Linked DNA regions of Homo sapiens: region 2 is linked to region 1. The links are contacts of gene promoters, found by promoter capture Hi-C in blood cells and fetal thymus (Javierre and others, 2016). All regions are on one chromosome and are shown on one strand. The core of a region is centred on a gene start or on the middle of the fragment in contact, and the rest is flanking DNA. Distances in the headings are between cores, read along the strand shown.

Region 1 (5,530 bases), core at 23-2,522:
CCATCTCAGGATTTTCAGAACCTGGTTTGAGCAATAAAGCTCCAGTGTCCTTTAGCCAGTTTCTGCATGCAGCCAGTTTCTGCATGCAGCCAGTTTCTGCATGCATTAAACTCTCTATTGCAATTCCCCTGTCTTGATAAATTGGCTCTACCTGGGCAGCGAGTAAGGCGAACCTATTGGGCGGCTACGCCTGAGATCTAATGACAGGCTGCACGTGAAGCCCAGACCAGGCACCTGTCTTACACCACAGGGGGATCCAGTCCACAGAACCAGCGTCCTTCCCTCCTGGAACGGACCTTCCCAAAGCCAGAGGGGCTCTAGGCGGCTCAAACAGGGGCTTCCCGGCTACCCTGGTCCCAGGCGGGACCACTCAGGTTCCTTCTCCAAGCCCCCTAGGCTGCAGGGCAGGCTTCCCTAGGGGCAGGCCCAGGCCTATAGCCCGGGACCCGCATCCCGGGCGAGCTGCACCCTCCCGAGACCTTCCCCATCTGTACAATGGGGACAGGACAAGGCCCAGCAGGCAGGCTGGCGGGGGTTCCGGCGACAGAGGGGGACAGCGGGCGAGCACGACAAGAGCACAGGCCCACGTGCGCACCGGCGGGGAGGAAGTAGCCCGGCGCCCCGCCCGCAGCGCGGACCGGAAGTGCTGCCGTAATCTGCGCTGAGAGTCGCGAAAGCGCTGTTCCCCTTAGTGACCGGCGACGCGGGCAAGATGGCGGCGCTGGGGGTGGCGGAGGCCGTGGCGGCCCCACACCCGGCTGAGGGGGCCGAGACGGCTGAGGCGGTGGAGCTGAGCCGCGCCCTGAGCCGCCTGCTGCCGGGGCTGGAGGCCGACAGCAAGCCGGGCCGGCGGCGCGCCTTGGAGGCCCTGCGGCGCGCGCTGGAGGAGCCAGGCCCTGCCGCCGACCCCACCGCTTTCCAGGGCCCCTGGGCGCGCCTACTGCTGCCGCGCTTGCTGCGCTGCCTGAGCGACCCCGCCGAGGGCTGCCGCGCGCTGGCAGTGCACCTGCTGGATCTGGGCCTGCGCCGCGCCGCGCGGCCCCGCGATGCCCTGCCGCGCCTGCTGCCCGCGCTCGCCGCGCGCTTGGCCGGCCCCGTGCCCGCGCGCCGCCCGCCCGAGGCCTGTGAGGAGCTGCGCCTGGCGCTTGTGCAGCTGCTGGGCCTGGCCGTGGACCTGTGCGGCGCCGCGCTCGCGCCCCACCTGGACGACGCTCTGCGCGCGCTGCGCTGCTCCCTGCTCGACCCCTTCGCCGCCGTGCGCCGCGAGAGCTGCAGCTGCGCCGCCGCCCTGGCGCAGGCCACGCCCGGTGAGCACCCCGGGCCCCGCTCCCACACGCCACCCCACACTCTCACCCCCACCTCCACCTCCGCGGCCCCTCTCACAACCCCCGCGGCTCGGCCCCGCCCCCCTCCACGCCCGCACCCCCCAACATCCCGGACCCCCCATGCGCCGCTTCCCCCACCCGCCTGCCCCAAAGCACCCCGCCCGGCCCCCTCCTCCCACCACCACTGCTTCCCCTGCCTCACGTCCCGCCACCAACGCGCCCTTCAGCTGCTCCCTTGTCCTCTACCCCCATGTACCTGTTTCCTGCGCTGCCACGTGCTCCTTGCCCCGTGACCCCTGTTCCTGCTTGGCCCTCACTCACCTCACTCCCCTGTCCCCTTGCTCCCCGCCTCCACCCTCCACGCCCCAAGCCCCGCCCCCCACCTGCCTGCTCCCTGTGCCCCCTCCACCTGCCTATCCTGTGCCATCCTCCTCCTTGCACGCCGCCCTCCCGCGACCCTCACCTCCCACCCTCCTCCCTGCCTGAGCCCCCTCCACCCCACCCGGGCCCACGAGCCAGCGCTTCTGTCCAGATACCTGGAAACCACCGCAGAAATTCCTGTTAGGCGGTTTGGGGTGGGGTGTGCCCTGATAGCTGCCCCCTTTCCTTCCCTCGGGGGCTTGCAGGACTTGCACCTGGTTGAGGGCACGCGCTTTGAGACTCTGCTCTGGTCATTTCACTTTCTGTCCCATTCATCCTACTCCCCTGCCTTTCCGCTCTGGCTTGGACCACTGTCCTAAGTGGAAGGAGGCCGCTTCTCCCCTCCACTTTATAACGTTCCCCATCTTTTTTAGAGCTCTGATCTGATCCGGTCGTTCCCTTTCCTTAGCTGGCCATTCCTGCAGGGTCTTGCCCTTTCCCTCCCCTGGCTGGGATGTGGAATGATAGCAGGCGCCTGCTTCCTGCTGGCGGGAAGGCTTTCCGAAGGAGGGAACACTGATGCTATAAATCCGTGGGCGGTAGGGAGCAGGAAAGCAGTGAGGGATCTGGCCAGCTCAGGCCGTCCCAGTGATGTCCCAGTGATGGTCTGAATGTAGTGGGAAGTGCAGGGGGTGTCAATAGAAGTGATAGACCCGAGTTCAGGTTGTTAAAAGATCACTGCAGCTGCGTGGAGAATAGATTCCAGAAGTAGAGGAAGAGCTGGACTTGGGGAAATGCCGAGATTTCCACGTTGGTTAACTTTGGATTTCACATGGTCCAGAACTCCTGTGGAGCTTGGGGAAGAACCTTGGGCTGGATGGACATGGCCATTGAGAATTCCTGGCATTTAATGTATTTCTTCTTCATCCTCAACCACTTCCCTACCCAGTCTGTACATCAGCCCCACGAGCTCCCTCCCTGGACCGTAGGTTCCACAGGACAGCACTGTGCCCATCTGTGCCCCAGCCCCAAGCGCAGCCTGCTGGGGTATGTGCTCACTGGTTGCTGTGGGGTGAGGGACTGTGCCTCTGCCTGGAGCATCCCCTCATCTCCAGCACCTCTGGCCTTCCTCTCCCCTGGGTGGGGGGCCTCACCTCTGGTCTCGGTCACACTGGGCAACGGCAGAGAGGTTGAGGCGCTCACCCAAAGTCTCACTGGAATAGCCGTTTCCCAGACGGGCCCCAAGTAGTGCAGAGCTGAGGCAAGAGGCGGCCTGGATGCCAGAGACCCTTTGGTTCTGACTTTTTTTTTTTTTTTTTTTGAGACAGGGTTTCACTCTGTCTCCCAGGCTGGAGTGCAGTGGGGCGATCTCAGCTCACTGCAACCTCCGCCTCCTGAGTTCAAGCGATTCTCCTGCCTCAGCCTCCCAAGTAGCTGGGATTACAGGCGCCTGCCACCTCTTGTTCTGACTTTCTGCGGGGACTTTACAAATAGGAAGTGCAGTGGCTTTGCCTGGAGTGGTGCTGGCCCAGCTTCCTGGAGGAGCCTGGGGTCTCGTCTCAGGTGGGGCTGGGAGTGTGGCCTCGCCTCTGTCTTCTGGGCTCGGCTTCTTTCCTCTGGCCAGTGTCCCCGTCAGGCCTCCACCTTGGCTTCAGCAGGTCCAGGCTCTCTGGTCTTCAGCCACAATGGGTTTGCACCCCCAGCCTTTCCCCGCTGGTCCTCCTAAGCCTCTGGGTTGCACAGGTGTCATCAGGGTGGGACGCTTGTCCCTGAGCCTCTTCCTGTGCCGGGCGGTACAGAGCTCTCCTTGGCAGCCTGGATTGTGTACTGTTCATGCAGCAAGGACCTGGCGTAGGAGAGGAAGGGAGGTGAGGAACTCATAGGCAGGCAGCCGTCCTCTGGAAGCCCACAGAGCTGGGCGAGGCGTGTGGGAGCAGCTCTGGTAACTGGGGGCCTCCCTGTCCCTCAGACCACTTCCACATGCAGTCGGAGTCTCTGATCGGGCCCCTGATGCAGACCATCTCCCACCAGCACTGGAAGGTCCGTGTGGCCGCCATTGAAGCCACAGGCGCAGTGATCCATTTTGGCAACGGGAAGTCCGTGGACGACGTGCTTTCCCATTTTGCTCAGCGACTGTTTGATGACGTCCCGCAGGTAACTGGTGTTTCTCCTGGACAGTCTGTTCCTCTCTCCAACACAGGCGGGCTGACGTGCTGTTTTTAACTAACTCACTTGTTCTTTTTTCAGAGTGCTGTATGCACCAAATGTCCTTTCATTATTCCTAGTCACAGGACGTTCCTGTTCACATCTTGGAAAAACTAGAAGAGAGCTGAACTGTTTTAATGTTTGATGTTATGAATTCCAAGGATGTTAGAAAGGATGACTTGTGTAGTTATTGTCTCTTAGGCACAGTGTGCACTTCAGCAGTTGCAGAAGGTTCCTTAGTGCTCCCATCCATCAAGACGCACTTTCCCGAAAAGCCACCATGGTTGGTGGACCTGGACTGGGAGAAGAGTGGAGTCGGGGTTGGTTTGTTGGGGATAATTATGTCGTTGGGCTTTGGAACCCACCAAGAGACGGGCAGGCAGGCAGGCAGGAGTCCTACAGATGGGGCTGAGTGTTGGCTTTACTGCTGGCAGAATCTGGCCTGGAGGGCATGTCTTGGATCTGAGGCCCCAGTGACTTGCTAAAATGCTACACACTGTGGCCACCGGGGAAGCTGAGTGACCTCTGATCTTTCTGTCTCTGAGTTACCTGTCATCGTAGTCAGACATGTGATCTTTTGTGTCTGGCCTCTTCACTGTGCATGGTTCCAGGTTTCAGCCTTGAAGAGGTAGGTTTCCTGATGAGAAATGGCTTGAAGGTGGTGAGTTGAAGAGTCACTCGGGGTATTCTGGGGCCAGGATGGAAGCCCTGACTCGCTCCCTCGTCTGTGCTGCTGGGGTCCACCCGTAGGGCCGGCTCCAGGTGTGACATAGCACCTGCTCAGGACACCCCTGCTTTGCCTCCATGGCCAGGCTTCATTCTCCGGCTCTCTCCCTCCAGCAGCAGAGTGGCTGCCTAGGGGCTGTGCGCAGAGACACAGGGGGACCCTTTCCCACCAGGAGCCTTTGTTCACCCCCCTTGGTCTCATCAGGCCAGCGGAAGTTGAGTCACCATGTACGCTGGCCGGCCCCTCCTGGAGCTGGCGTGGGTTCGGCACCAGGCAGCACAGAGGGCCCCTGAGGACATCAGGCTCTGCCCAGTGGGGAGAAAGTGGGCAGAGTGCGGGGTCAGTGTCCATGCTGCCCGGCACTTGCAGCAGGCACTTCTGGCACTGGCTAAATATTTGGGCTGCGGAGGGCAGTTCAAGGGGCCAGGGCAAGAACAGAGCCCAGCAAGAAGTGCAGGCGGCCGGCTGGTTTTTCTCTCCCACCTTCCTTAAGCCTGAGGCAGAGCATGGCCCACAAGGAAAGTGGAGTCTGTGTCATGGGCCAAGTCTTACTCCTCAAAACAGTGTGATGACTCTGTATGGAGAGCTCTGTGTGAATACTGAAGCTCCATAGCTGATAGCTGTCGGTGTAAGCCTACTGTCACTGTCTAAAAATAACCATCACTGTCTAAAAATACCGTCACTGTCTAAAAATACCATCACTGTATCGATAGCTGTCTGTAAATACTGGAACTCTGTGGAGCACGCTCTGTAAATACTGGAACTCTATTGCTAGCTGTAAACGGTGTAACTCAGTATAACTATACCGTAACTCTAAAAATACCATAACTATGTGTCGACAGCTGCCTATAAATGCTATAACTGTATTGGTAGCTATGTATAAGCAGCCTACTCTGTATCAATAGCTGTCTGT
Region 2 (5,452 bases), core at 1,808-4,307, 240 kb before region 1:
AAAAGCCGGAACACAGACAATGTGAAGCTTCCTCCCTCAGACCCACCACATTGGTGGGCTTTACTTCAGCCCTAGGGACTCCTTCTGTCCCCTCACCCCTCTCAACTCCAACCCCCCCTCCCCAGACTGCAGAGAGGGGCCGGTTCTTGCCAGAGTCGCTCTTAGCCGTTTTGTGAAAAATCCATTTATTGTCTTCATTGCTTGGGAAGTTATAATCTTGAGGCTGCAGCTTCCTAAGGCGTTGCCATGGAGATGAATTTTCTGTCATAAATAAAAGTATTCTGGGGTCAGGAGATCTCAAGCATAACTAGGACAGATTTTGAGGGGGAAAATGCAAGAATTTCAGAAGCACATGAGATGATTTGGGCTGCCTTTTCCGGAGGGTGTTTTTTAGGCTGTCCTGAATTTGGCCTCTAGATGTGGGACCGTCCCTCTGCCGTACCCCCAACCCCGTTCCCCCAAGCCGACACTGTGTCTGCCTGCCCCTCCCCTCCTCCACCTGCTCAGGGCCAGAGCCTTGGGGGACCTGGTTTGGAAATCCAGGTTGGGGTGACGTCTGGGGTCACCCAAAGACGGGCTGGCTCCCAGTGTGTCCTCAGACAAGCCTTTCTGTCCCTGGCCCTAGACCCTGCCTGGGTGAGGGCCTCATTCACTCAGCCTAGGATTTTTGGAACATTCCTCACACGCCTCCTACGGGCCAGGGCTCACTCAGGTATTTCCCCTTGGGCTTGGGGCAGGCAGGGGGACACTCCCACTCCCGCATGACCCCTGCTTCCGAGGGCCCTGACCCCACCCCCACTCTTGCTCACTTCCCACCAGCCCCCATGGACATTAGCTTTAGGGATTTCCTTTTGTTCAGGGTCGCTGCAGGTCTGTGTTCGAGAAGGTGGGGGAGGCGGGACTGGAGCCCGGGAGGAAGGTATGCAGGGCTGAGGGGCCTCTGGAAGCCACCCAAGCCGACAGCCTCCGCCAGCAGTCAAGGGCTGTTTGCCAACCCCCATGCACCCCCTCATTAGGTAAACACAGAGTCCTCCATCAGCACAGGGCCCCAGAGCCATCCCTTGCACAGAGGCCCCAGGGTCCCCCGCGCTCGAGGGCCCCCCATGACCCTGGGACTGGGACTGCGGCACCCTGGGCCTCTCCTCCCAGCCCCGAGGCTCTCACTGGAGGACCCATCTTCCAAGGCTGCCACAATCCCAGGAGGCGGCTCCAGCCCCAGTAGCTCCAAAAAAACGAATGGAGAGGTGAGGAGGGAGAGAACAAAAGAAAGGAGGGAATGAAGGAGGGAGGAGGCTACGGGGTGAACCCTTTGCAGTTTGGACCTCAGACTGTGGTCCCCTCACCTACCTCCCCGGACAGCACCACCCTCCCTTCCCACCTTTGATGGGTCCCTGTCCCAGGAGAAAGCCCATAGAGACATCACACGGGAAGATCCTGCAGGAAGCCCTTCCTCCCTTGCAAACACTCGCAAAAAACGGCCCTTGATCATGGAGAAACAGGCTTCCAGGGCCCCCAGGGGCTGGGGTCCACGGTTGCAGGCCAGCAAGCCACAGCTCCCAGGCTGGGGCTCTAGTGAGTCTAGCCTCCCCAAGACCCACTTCTGCCAGGGGTTCTCTGCCTCCTGATAAATAACTGTGACACTATCTGCCCACATCCCTTGCTGAGCAGCAAAATCAACACAGGACAGGCTGTGACTCGCCAGGCCACGAGGAGCTGCAGGACGTACACACTGCATCGCCATCTGTGGGGCTTGGACAGCCACAGGAGGGACATGGCCCCAGAAGCCTGGCAGGGCATCCCACTGCGAGGGCCCCTCAGTGCCAGCTCTCGTGGCCTCTCACCAAGTCTGGCCCCAGCCCAGCTTTCCATCGCCACAAGCTTGTGCAGTCCACACCCGCCACCAAGAAGGGCGCTGGGGGTTGGGGCCAATGCCAGGTGGGGCAGGGAGGGGACGCTGTGGGAGGGAGGGGTGGCTGAACAGGATAAGGGCCCTGGAATGCACGGCTCCACCCCTGGATGGCTGTGTCCTCGTCCACAGAACAGGGACAGGGCCGCAGAAGGGCACTGTCAGGAGGCGGGATCCCTGTACCCTGATGACTCCCGGGAAGCGGCAGAAATCACGGTCATGAAGGATTCGTAACCGGGGCAGGGCTCTTCTCAGAGCGGGAGAAACAGACAGCGTCCAAGGAGCACCCCACACTGTCCCAGCTGATAAATGAACACAGCTGCAGACCATAGCAGGGTCCTCAGTGAGTCCGAGCTCTCCTGACTCCGCGTCGGACTGAAGCATCCTCGAGGGTGTCTATATGAGCCTGTGTGTGAGCTTGTGTGTGAATGTGTGCGTGCCTGTGTGTGAATGTGTGTGCCCGTGTGAGCCTATGTGAGCCTGCATGTGAATGTGTATGCCTGTGTGTGAATGCATGTGCTTGTGTGTGAGGCGCGCTTGTGTGTGAGGCATGTGAATATGTGAGCCTGCATGTGCCTGCATGAGCCTGCGTGTGCCTGCGTGAGCCTGCGTGTGACTGTGTATGCCTGTGTGAGCATGTGTGTGCGTGTGACTCCATGAGCCTGTGTGTGAATGTGTGAGCCTGCATGTGAATGCGTGTGCCTACGTGAGAATGCGTGAGCCTGTGTGTGAATGTGTGTCCCTGTGTGTGGACCTGCACGTGAGTGAGTGTGCCTGCATGTGAATGCGTGTGAATGCATGAGCCTGTGTGTGAATGTGTGAACCTGTATGTGAATGTGTGTGCCTGTACGTGAATGTGTGTGGTGCTCCATGTGTTTTTGTGTCTATGTGTTTGTCTCTGTGTGGCTGTAACTTTCTGTGACTCTCCAAAAACCCTGATTCAAAACCAAAGACACCACAGGAAAAGAGGACTACAGAACAATTTCCCACTTAAGCATGGACACAAAAATCCTTAACAAATGATTAACAAGTAGAATCAATATAAAAAGAAACGTATTTAATGACCAAGGTGGGTTAATCTCAGGAATGCAAGGTTAATGTAGCATTTGAAAAACTAATCAATGTAATTCACAATAATAGAATTATGTAAAAAAAAATCACATGGTAATTTTAACAGATGCAGAAACCATACAATGAAATGCAATAGATGCAAAAAAAATGGACACAATTCAACAACTTTTCATGATTTAAGAAAAACAAAAAACCCTCTCAGAAAACTAATAGGAGAAGCAAACCTCCTCAACTTCATTAAAGGCATCTACAAAACAGCTACAGCTAACATCTTACTCAATGTTGAAAGGCTCATTGCTTTCTAGCTAATAACAGGAATAAAGCAAGATTGCCCATTCTATTGTCACTTCTATTTGTTCTGGAGGTCCCAGCCAGTACAACAAGGCAAGAAAAAGAAATAAAAGGCATACAGAATGCAAAAGAAGAAATACAACAGTTCTTATTTCCAGATAACATGATCATGTATGTAGAAAACTCAAAGGAATTTCAAAAGAATTCTACTAAAACTAATAAGTGAATTTAGCAAGGTTGCAGGATCTAAGGACGATATACAAAAACAAATTGAAATTGAACAACTAGACCAAAGATCAACCAGCAAGTAGAAGACCTGGACAACATCATACACCAACTCGATCTTATGTGCATCTACAGAACACTCCATTCAACCATAAAGGTATACACATTCTTTTTCTTTTGGAGATGGAGTCTCGCTCTGTCACCCAGGCTGGAGTGCAGTGGTGCAATCTCAGCTCACTGCAGCCTCCACCTCCCGGGTTCAAGCGATTCTCGTGCCTCAGCCTCCTGAGTAGCTGAGATTACAGGCATGCCCAACCATGCCCGGCTAATTTTTGTATTTTTAGTAGAGACAGGGTTTCACCATGTTGGCCAGGCTGGTTTCAAACTCCTGACTCAAGTGATCCGCCTGCCTTGGCCTCCCAAAGTGCTGGGATTACAGGTGTGAGCCACTGCGCCCATCCAGAAACACACATTCTTTTCAAGTGCACGTGAAACATTCTCCAGGATAGACCATATGTTTGGCCATAAAAGAAGTCTCAATAAATTCAAAATAATGAAAATCATACCAAGTATGTTCTCTGACCATAATGAAATAAAATTAGAAATCATTAATAGATGAAAATTTATGAAATTCACAAATATGTGGAAATTAAACAACACACTCCTACATAACCAATAAGTCAAAGAAGACATCCCAGCGAAAACCAGAAAATACTTTGAGATGAAAGAAAACTCAACTTACCAAAGCTTATGGGATGCAGCTTAAAACAGTGCTTAGAGGGACATTTATAGCTAGAAACTCCTAATTTTTTAAAATAAAAAAGAAAAGACGTCAAATCAATAACTTAATCTTCCATCTTTTAAAAAATGGAAAAAAAAACCAAACCAAACCCAAAACAAGCAGAAAAATGAAATAACAAAGATTAGAGAGCTACTTGAAAGGCTGAGGCAGGAGGATCACGTGAGCCCAGTTCAAGACCAGCCTGGGCAACATAGCAAGACTCTGTCTCAAAAAAAAAAAAATTACGGGGGAAATAAATTTTAAAAATAAAGAGTAGAAAAACAATAGAGAATATTAACAAAACCAAAAGTTGGTTCTTGAAAAAAATAAAATAGACAAAACTTTAGCTACACTGACCAAGAAGTAGACAGAATAATCAAATTACTAAACTCAGGAATGAAAAGAGGGAACATTAGTATCAGCCTTACAGAAATAAAAATAATAAAGGAATGCTGTGAACATTGTGTGCCAAGAAATTAGATAACCTAGATGAAATGAACAAATTCCTAGAATCACAAACTGACTCAAGAAAAAGAGGCCCGAAGAAATATGAAGACTTATAGTAAGCAAAGAGATTGAATTAGTAATCAAAAAACTTCCTACAAAGAAAAGCCCAGGACCAGATGGCTTCACTGGTGAATGCTACCAAATATTTAAAAAGGAATTAACACAAATGCTTCCCAAACTCTTTGAAAAAATAGAAGAGGAAAGAACTCATTCTGTGAAGCCAGTCATAACCTGTCACCAAAACCACACAAAGACATCACAAGAAAACTACAGACTACTATCCCTCATGTATAGACACACAAAATTTCAATAAATAAAAATATTAAATAAATAAAATATTAAAAAGCCAAATCCAGCAACATACAAAAATAATGACTGTGCTCCATGACCAAGTGGGATTTATTCCAGGAATGCAAAGGTGGTTCAACATACAAAAAAAAAATCAGTGTAATATACCATATTAACAGAATAAAAATAAAAATCACATGATCATCTCAACTGATGCAAAAAAAGGACAATCTAATATTTTTTCATAACAAAAATAAATAAACACTCAACAACTAGGAATAGAAGGGAACTTTCTCACCCTAATAAAGGACATCTACATAAAACCCACAGCTAGCTAAGGCAAAAGACTTAGAACTCTTCCCCTAAGATCAGGAGCAAGACAA

What was found. The method cuts DNA at HindIII sites, captures the fragments that hold promoters and counts their contacts. A CHiCAGO score of 5 or more calls a contact.
Region 2: a contact is called between a fragment that was not itself captured here and the fragment with the promoter of PRKAR1B in region 1, in 2 of 17 cell types (naive CD8 T cells and activated CD4 T cells). The highest score is 6.4, in naive CD8 T cells.

The regions. Positions count from the first base shown.
Region 1 is chr7:726,009-731,538 of GRCh38, forward strand. PRKAR1B (protein kinase cAMP-dependent type I regulatory subunit beta) reads right to left here and starts at 1,273. Exons shown (of 11, transcript NM_001164760.2): 1 at 1,202-1,273. DNAAF5 (dynein axonemal assembly factor 5) reads left to right here and starts at 691. Exons shown (of 13, transcript NM_017802.4): 1 at 691-1,307; 2 at 3,655-3,839. The coding sequence starts at 713. RefSeq lists silencers at 764-963, 1,214-1,263, 1,324-1,433, 1,474-1,553 and an enhancer at 4,858-5,357. The HindIII fragment of the contact is 13,329 bases long and covers 1-5,530 here.
Region 2 is chr7:483,939-489,390 of GRCh38, forward strand. No RefSeq gene overlaps it. Among named protein-coding and RNA genes, the nearest start is that of PDGFA, 33 kb to the right of the region's middle. The HindIII fragment of the contact is 2,362 bases long and covers 1,877-4,238 here.